Linked DNA regions of Homo sapiens: regions 1 and 2 are each linked to region 3. Evidence: promoter capture Hi-C in 16 types of primary human blood cells and fetal thymus (Javierre and others, 2016). All regions are on one chromosome and are shown on one strand. Each heading gives the region's core, a stretch centred on a gene start or on the middle of the fragment in contact. The rest is flanking DNA. Distances are from core to core; before and after follow the strand shown. Region 1 overlaps KCNQ1 (potassium voltage-gated channel subfamily Q member 1). Region 2 overlaps KCNQ1 (potassium voltage-gated channel subfamily Q member 1). Region 3 holds the start of MRGPRG-AS1 (MRGPRG antisense RNA 1).

Evidence for each region. Contacts are between HindIII fragments. The CHiCAGO score rates a contact against its expected background, and 5 or more counts as called.
Region 1: a fragment that was not itself captured here is called in contact with the fragment with the promoter of MRGPRG-AS1 in region 3 in 5 of 17 cell types (non-activated CD4 T cells, M1 macrophages, naive CD8 T cells and 2 more); the score reaches 7.1 in non-activated CD4 T cells.
Region 2: a fragment that was not itself captured here is called in contact with the fragment with the promoter of MRGPRG-AS1 in region 3 in 4 of 17 cell types (naive CD8 T cells, total CD8 T cells, activated CD4 T cells and 1 more); the score reaches 6.6 in naive CD8 T cells.

The regions. Positions count from the first base shown.
Region 1 is chr11:2,518,435-2,521,134 of GRCh38, forward strand. The region is part of intron 1 of KCNQ1 (potassium voltage-gated channel subfamily Q member 1); the gene reads left to right. Among named protein-coding and RNA genes, the nearest start is that of KCNQ1, 75 kb to the left of the region's middle. RefSeq lists enhancers at 1,277-1,778, 1,779-2,278. The HindIII fragment of the contact is 5,693 bases long and covers 1-2,700 here.
Region 2 is chr11:2,554,175-2,556,874 of GRCh38, forward strand. All of the region lies in intron 2 of KCNQ1 (potassium voltage-gated channel subfamily Q member 1), which reads left to right. Among named protein-coding and RNA genes, the nearest start is that of KCNQ1, 110 kb to the left of the region's middle. The HindIII fragment of the contact is 654 bases long and covers 1,080-1,733 here.
Region 3 is chr11:3,216,884-3,219,583 of GRCh38, forward strand. It overlaps MRGPRG-AS1 (MRGPRG antisense RNA 1), which reads left to right and starts at 1,449. Exons shown (of 2, transcript NR_027138.1): 1 at 1,449-1,676. It overlaps MRGPRG (MAS related GPR family member G), which reads right to left and starts at 1,930. Exons shown (of 1, transcript NM_001164377.1): 1 at 1,061-1,930. The coding sequence starts at 1,930. The coding sequence ends at 1,061. The HindIII fragment of the contact is 7,931 bases long and covers 1-2,700 here.

The sequences.
Region 1 (2,700 bases), core at 78-2,577, 700 kb before region 3:
CCCCGGCAGGGGGACCAGCCTCTGGGGAGGTGCTGCAGGCACAGGAGTTCTGTGTGGACCCAGCCGAAAGCTGGCAGGAAGGGACCTGTTTCTTGGGGTTCCCAGTCCAGATCTGTGTTGGAAAAAGTGTCAGCTGAAACCCCAAGAGGCTGGGGACAGCCTTGGTCCTGCTGTGGGACACAGGTTTAATCTCCAGATGGCTCCTGGATAGGCGGGCTGGCGGCTCTGTCTAACGGGGACAGCACACTTGGGGCTTCGGGAGACAATGAGGGCAGAAATCTTACCCACCGGCCACACCAAGTCACCCATTGTTGTGTCCCTTGGGCTGGGATCCCATGGCTTTCAAGAACTTTTTAAAGAAATGAGACTCAGCTGCCGCGGAACAAGCCACAGGTAAAGAGTATAAGACAGCGTGAGGCATGGGGTGGCCACGGGAGCCCTGGGCCAAGGAGGCCCAGTCTGGTGGGGAGGCGTCCATTCACCCGGAGCTGGACGGGGAGGACCAGGCTGTGGGTCTGTGAAGCGGGTGTGGGATCACATCCACGCTCCTTCTGTGGTTTGTGCCCTGTTGTGGCTGCCAGGGGAGGGGCTTCCAAGGCCCTGCCAACCAGCTGGGCAGTGTGGACAATGGCAGACAGGGTGCTGTGTGGGGGCCTGAGGGGCAATGGTTGGGGGGCAGCTGTTGCCGTTCTGGTGAGAAGTGGCGGTCCCTGAAGGGCTGGGGTGCTAGGGAGCCTCATGGACCTACTCCCGACGTGGCAGCTGCCTGCTGCAGATGGGCCAGCCATGTCCCGCCTGTGCCGGGAATCACCACCCCCAGCTCCCTTCTCTCCAACATGACAGGGTTCGGGTGATGCCCTGTGGGCTGAATGGTGAGAGAGGCGTCCCTGTGCTGACACCAGTGGGCGTGGACGTGACCCTCTTTTTAAAAGAATTTTTTCAGATGCAATTCCATTAAGGATCTGGAGGTGAGAGGATGAAAAGGAAACTCTGAGCTTTGAGTACATTTTTAATTATGTTTTAAAAATTAAGACATGAGGCCGGGCATGGTGGCTTACGCCTGTAATCCCAGCACTTTGGGAGACTGAGTTGGGAGGATCGCTTGAGCCCAGGAAATCGAGGCTGCAGTGAGCCAGGATCATACCACTGTCCTCCAGCCTGGGTGACAGAACAAGACTCTGTCTCAAAAACAAAACAAAACAAAACAAAAAACCAAAAAACAACAACAACTAATATATGTTTTTGACCAATACCTAATTCTGTTGTTTAAGAATTCAAAATCTACCAATAGTGATCATAAGTAATGTATTAAATACTTACATAGTACAGCAGGTGTTGGCCCCCCCCCACAACATTGGTTTCCATCCCTGGAAGCTGCAAATGTGACCTGACATAGAAAACACCCCTTTGCAGCTGAGGCTGAGGGTCCCGAGAGGCGTGATTGCATTATCCAGGGGGCCCAAGTCCAGTGACACGTGTCCTCCTAAAAGACAGGACAGATTCAACAAAGGAGGATCCGGCCACATGCTGCACAGCACGGGAGTGATGCCGCCACCCACCCAGGACGCGGGAGCCCGCAGAGGCTGGAAGGCTGAAAAGGGCCCTGTCGCCCCCACCCCCCAGGATGACGTATGGCCTGATGTGGCATTCCTGCCTCAGGACCATGGCACCAAGTGGTGGCGCTGGGGCCCCTGGAGTCGGCCAGTCTGGGCACGTCCCATGCTGTGTCTGAGCCTCAGTGTCCCCATCGATTGGTAGTGCCTCCTGAACCCCAATCCAGGGGGCTTCTGGGGGGCAGCCTGGGACCAGACGTGCCTCACCAGGGCTTCTGTCTCCTCACCAGGACTTCCATGATGTGACACCTTCCACATGGGGTTCAGAGCGGGGAACCTGTGCCTAGTGTCCAGCCCAGCGTGGGGCCCTCGGTGTGGGCCAGGGCTCACCCCTTTGGGAGGGGTCGGGAGATGCCTGGCCCAGGCTCCATCCATGCAGAGCCAGGAAGCAGGTGAACCTGTGGGGACCTTGGCGACCTCCAAACCCTGCTGAGGCTGCCTGCTGACAGCCACTGGTGAGGGGGGTGACAGCCACTGGTGAGGGGGGTGACCAGCTGGTAGCTTTTTCTGAGGTGCAGATTCAGCCCTGGGGAACAGCCCTGGCAGGCTGTGAGACCTCTGCCCCTGGGCGTCCACATCCCAGGGCTCTGAGCTCAGCAGCCCTGGAGCCGGCAGCCACATCAGGGATGGAGGGAGACCTGCTGGTGACCAGTGAGTGAGCAGGGGAAGCCTGTCCTCTCCAGCGCCCAGTGTTTCCTTCCTGGGGCACATGGGATTTGGAGGCATTTGGAGTCTCCCAGGATGACTTTTTTTTTTAAGCCCCTAGAAGTGGTTTGGGGTTTAAGCGTCAATATTTAATCTCTTGAAGTTACACATTCAAGGCCCTATCCTGCCTTCGGCTTTAGGTTCGCTTCACAAACCCATTGTCTGCTTATCAGCCTGGCGAGGTCCCGTCCCCAGTAGGGGTCTTTGAACATTGCTCGATCTCATTCACCAGCCACGGGGAACATTTTGAACCCTCTGATGCTTGCTCTATGAATGTTGTTTGCTTTAAAAAAAGTTTTTTTTTTATTGTGATAAAATACACATAACACACAATTTACCGTCTTAACTCTGTGTCAGGTCACGGCCCAGTGGCAATAGGTAC
Region 2 (2,700 bases), core at 157-2,656, 660 kb before region 3:
ATATTTCCTGCTCTTCAATTTTTAGGAAGAGTTTGTGTAGAATTGCAATTATTTCTCCCTTAAACATTTGATAGCTAGAACATGTGGAGGTATCTGGGCCTGGAGTTTTCTTTGTGGAGAAGTTTGCCATTGGAAAGTCAGCAGATACAGGGCTATGCAGGTTGTCTATTTCTTCTTGATGAGGTTTTGATTGTTCATGTCTTTGAAAGTATTTGTCCCCAAGGAGCAGAAGCCCCAGCCCAAATTTGGAAACAAGACCATGTTGTGCTGACATGTCATTCCTGAGCAGCTTAGGGGCTGTGGGGTTTGCAGACCTCTGAATGCAGCCATCTGCAGGGGGACCCTCCTCAGTGCCCTGAGAGGGGGCCTGGGCTGGGTGGTCTCTGCTGCTGGCCATCCCACTGGGCACTGCCTCCCCAGGGATTCTGCAACAGGACACCGTAAGGGGCACGGGGGACAAAGATCAGACTTTCTCTGTTTCCTTCCAGCTTTGCTCCCCAGGGAGGCAGTCCCTTCTCAGAGGAATGAAATTTAAGAAGACAGGCCCTACAATTTCACGACAAGTCTGCTTTTGACTCTCCCGTTTACTGTGTAAACTTCAGCCCTAAAACAACATACATCCTTCTGAAGTTGTTCACATATTAGCTCTTAAAACAGCAAAATCCGTGCACAATTTCCTCTCAATCCCTTAAAACATTCCTGAAAGGGGGGGAAAACAACTGTTTAAATTCACCGCCTGTTATTAAAATCTCTAGATTTGCAGAATCAGAGTGAGGTACTCAGCAGTCAGAAAACAGACTAGACAGGCCCGTGTGCACACACGCGCTGACACACGTGCACACACACACGTCCACAGGGCAGCCTTTAATAACCGCAGGCCTTCCTGTCCCAACACTGCGCGGGCCCCTGAAGGGCCGGTGTGGGTTGCAGCTCCTCAATCTCTGCTAAAGTAAACAGGGTTCAACCCTGCGGCCTTCTCAGCACTCTCCCCAAGTCAAAAGAAGGGTGCTCAGCCCCTGGTCTCTTTGGTTTGCCAAACTTCTAGTGCTGGTGAAATTCTTAAATATGACATTTTTAGAAGCTTCGGCTCCTGGCAGATAAAAATAATGTCCCCCGCTCCACCCCCTTTTCCCCCTATCCCAGTTCTAGCTAAGACAGTGATCAGAGGGGTGCACCGTCTTTGGGGTTAACAGCCATCAGCAGTGGGGTTCCCAGGCTGAAACTAAATCCTCGTTTAACTGGCCTGGAGACGGAAACAGCCCTGCCTGGGGAAGATGGGGGATTTGCTTTAAATACGTGTAAAGCTGCCTGCCAGGCGGCTAATGGTGTCTGCAGCCAGGCGTGGGCGTCTCCGGGCCATGGGCTCCCCCACCACAAATTGCAGGGCAGCCGGCTTGGGCCACTCCTGTGTGTGCGGGGCCCTGGGTATGATTCCTGGGAGGCAGCTCCCAAACTGTGGGGCTCAGCAGAGGATTCAGGGCCTGATTTGCGGGCAGCCCCACCTGCCTTTTTGACTGTTCAGAGCCCTGAGTGCCTCCCATATGCCCACATTTTCCTGCCCCTGGGCCTTTTCTTCTGGTCATCGGCCTGGAGTGCCTCCACTGGCACATTGAGTTCTGCCTTCAGAGCCTGGGTTTTCTGGTGGAATGGGGCAGGGGTAGGCTGATAGACCTCTTGGAGAGACAGGGCCCACTTTCTTGTAGGCCCACAGGGACCCCGCCTGGGGAGAGAGAAGCTTCAGGCCCTGAGGCCTATGGCCTGGACCTCTCTAGAGACCCTAGAACAGACCTCTGGCCTGGCCTTGCTGATGACCTGGAGCCCCTGGGTGCCAGCTGCAGCCCCCTGCCTGTCCAGGAGTCTGAGCTCCAGGTATCAGCGAGGTGGGTTCGTTCTGAGGCTGTGAGGGAGTGTTCCAGGCCTCCCCCAGCTACTGTGGAAGGGTTCCCGGTCGACGCATCGCACCAGACCCTGCCTCCGCCTCCATACAGCGCCCCCCGGCCGGCAAGTCCATGTCCAGGTTTCCCGTTTGATAAGAACACCAGTTGTATGGGAATAGGGGCCCACCCTAACCACCTCATCTTACCTAATAGCATCTGCAGCAACCCTATTTCCAAACAAGGTCACACTCTGAGGTGTGCTGGAGGGTCTAGGACCTCAACATATGAATTTGCGGGGCGGGGGACACAGTTTAGCCGGTAGGAATACCTACCTGTCAGAGGATTCTTTAATCCAAGGGTCCGTAAACCATAGCCTACAAACCTGGCTGCTGATCTGTATAAATAAGATTTGATTAGCACACGGCCACGTGTGCTTGTGAACATCTCATCTCTGGCTGTTTTTGTGCTATAACAGCACAAAATTGTCTGCTGGAGTTGTTGCAACAGAAATCGCGTGGCCTGCAAAGCCTAAAATATTTACTATCTGGCTTTAGAGAAAAAGCTTGTCAAGCCCTGTTCTAAACTATGAAGACAATGTTGGAGGTTGCTTTCTATACCCACAGAGCCGTTGATGGGGTGAAGGGAGAGGGGTGAAATGCAGTCACACGCAAATTCTTATCTTCCTGAGGAGAAAGCCTTAGGGAGCCCACTACAGTGGACACTGTCTTTAGAGAGTAGCAGACCTGGCTGTGAGTTTGAGGAACCAGTGAAATGAGAGTTCAGTGACATCCTCAACTTCATGAGGATCAGAACATGGATAACA
Region 3 (2,700 bases), core at 199-2,698:
CTTGCTTTCTTGCTTTCTTGCTTTCTTTCTTTCTTTTTCCTTCCTTTCTTCCTTCCTTTCTTTCTTTCTTTCTTTCTTTCTTTCTTTCTTTCTTTCTTTCTTTCTTTTTCCTTCCTTCCTTCTTTCCTTCTTTTCTTTTCTCTCTCTCTCTTTCTCTCTCTCTCTGTCTCTCTCTCTCTCTCTGTCTCTCTCTCTCTCTCTCCAAAGCAAACACTTGGGGCAAAAGCTCCAGATGATCCAGGGCTGAGGAGGGAGGGTGAGAGCAGAGGTGGGAGACGGGAGCAACCCGCAGAGAGCGGATGGCCCTGGGGACGCAGGAGAGGCCGGGTGGGGACCAGTGTGGGAGGGGATGGGAGGGGACCGAGGGGATGGAGGCTCCTGCATCCGCCGGCCCACGGGGCTGGGTCTGTTCTGTGCAGAAGCAGCACCACCTGGTGGCCTCTGCTGGTGACATCAGGCACCTGCCAGTCCTGGGCCTCAGAGAGGGGGACAGAGCCCTGGGTGTGGTCCCCGCGGGGTGGGCAGGACAATGATGGCTGAGCAGGGCGGGGAGTAAGGAGTAGTTCCACCTCAACTCTGTAGGGGGCGAATCAGAGCCTCAGCCAGCAGGTGGCATGGACGGCGCCCACCTAGCCCAGGAGTCCGGAAGCCTGGGTTCCAATCCGGCCACTGTGGGCTGGTGGCTGGCTCTGTTTTATTGTGCAGTTTTCTCCCCTGTGACTCAGGTGCAGCAGGGTGGGGAGGGGCCGGGTAAGGGGATCTGGGCTGGGCCTGGGGGCGTGGTGCCTGTCCTCACCCCTATTCAGGAGGCTTCTCCTTTCTCTCTCCTTGCCTGACCTCTCTCCAGCTCCATTTTCTGCCTCCCTCATCCTCAGCAGGCCTGGCTGGGGGGTGGTCAGGGCCAAGTCTCTCCAGCTGTGTCCAGCCCTTGGGTGCTCAGGGTAAGAGCTAGGTGGTGGGCGGGGCTCCTCCTGGTCCTGAAAGCATCTGGGTGTGGGGTGAGCGAGGGTCGGTGGGGGTGGGCACCTCCTGGCAGGCCCTGTGGGCGGGGCAAGCCCACTTATAGGAGACCCATGGGCAGGGACTGTCCCCTGGCACCCAGCTCGGCGCCCTCCCCCAGGGCCCTCCGCAGTACCGACCTCAGCGGCTCCCGCTTCCCGGGCTGTCGGCCCAACCCCGAGTAGATGAGGGGCTTGGAGCTGCTGTTGACGCAGGCCAGCAGCGTGGCCAGCGGGGAAAACACGGGCAGCAGGAAGTTCAGCAGGGGCTGCAGGCTCCAGTAGAAGACCGAGGGCAGGCCACAGAAGAAGAGCAGGAGCAGCGCGCCCAGGACGATGCCGTAGAGCCTGGGCCGCGGGCGAGTGGAGCAGCAGGTCACCCAGACAAAGAGGACCACGCCAGCCGTCCAGGCGACGCGGGCCAGCACCAGGAACCAGGTGACGCTGGCCACGTGGTAGCGCGGGCAGACCAGGGGGCACGCGCTGTTGCGCAGCAGGCCGCAGGCGTTGGCGGGCAGCGGCACGGCCGGCAGGGTCGGGGTCCACACCAGGGCGCAGAGGACGGCCGAGGCGTGTCTGGGCCGGCAGCCCTGGTAGCAGGCGGGGAAGAGGTCGGAGAGGCAGCGCTCCACGCTGAAGGCCGCCAGCAGCCAGAGCCCCACCGCGAACCACAGGAAGGTGAGCACGAAGTAGAGTGTGTCCTGGGCGCCCAGGGCAGCCTGAGCCACGGAGAAGCCCACACGGCAGGAGAGGAACAGGAAGTCGGCGGCGGCCAGGTGCAGCAGGTAGATGGAGAAGGGGCCCTTCTTGATGCGGAAGCCGAGGTTCCAGAGCACCAGCCCGTTACCTACCGGTCCCCCGAGGCCCACGATCAGCGTCAGGTAGAAGACCACACTGTCGAAGGTTCTCCAGAGGCCGAACAGCCCAAACATCCTGGCCGGCTCAGAGGGTGCTGGCGAGGGACCTGCAAGATGGAGACAGACATGGTCCTCAGGAGTCTTTTGTGCCCCCGCTGGGGGCACAGGGAGTGGCATCCATGGCCCTGCAGGTGCCCTCTGGGTGCAGCCCCTGGACCACCCTTCCCAGCGGCGGGACCTCAGCCGGGTCTCAGCCCTCTGCACCTCAGGTCAGGCGTGCCTAATGCCTCCCCATACCTGAGGGCAGGCCCTGGGCTCCTGGCAGGGTGGACTAACTTGCTGAAAAGATGTCCATGTCCCTCATGGATGTGGTGAGGGTGATGCTGCACCCTCCACCGTGTGCCAGACAAGGGTCTGCAGACAGAGGGAACGTGCATGGGGAACCCACGTGTGGCGCCTTCCTCTTCCCCCAGAGGTGGGAGCTTCTCCACGGTGGACCCTCATGGGGCTCCCACCTGGTGAGCCTAGACCAGCCTGCTGGCGAAGTCCCCTCCCCGGAGGGTCTCTGGAGGTGTCCAGGGAGGTGCCCAAAGGCAGAGGCTGCAGGTGGTCTGAGGAGGAGGGAGGAGGGAAGATGCGGTGTGAGGAGCTGGAGGGAGCCCCCAGCCTTCCCTGTGCACTCCTGGCCTAAGCAGAAGCTGAATCCCGGGGCTCATGCTGCCGGCGGTGCACTCAGGAGGCTGCTCTGAAGCCTCAAGCCAAGAGAGGGGCTTTGGTGATGGTGGCAGGGCCAGGGGGCCTCTCCAGGAGCCACTAACACAAGGGGAGGGGCAGATACAAGTGGC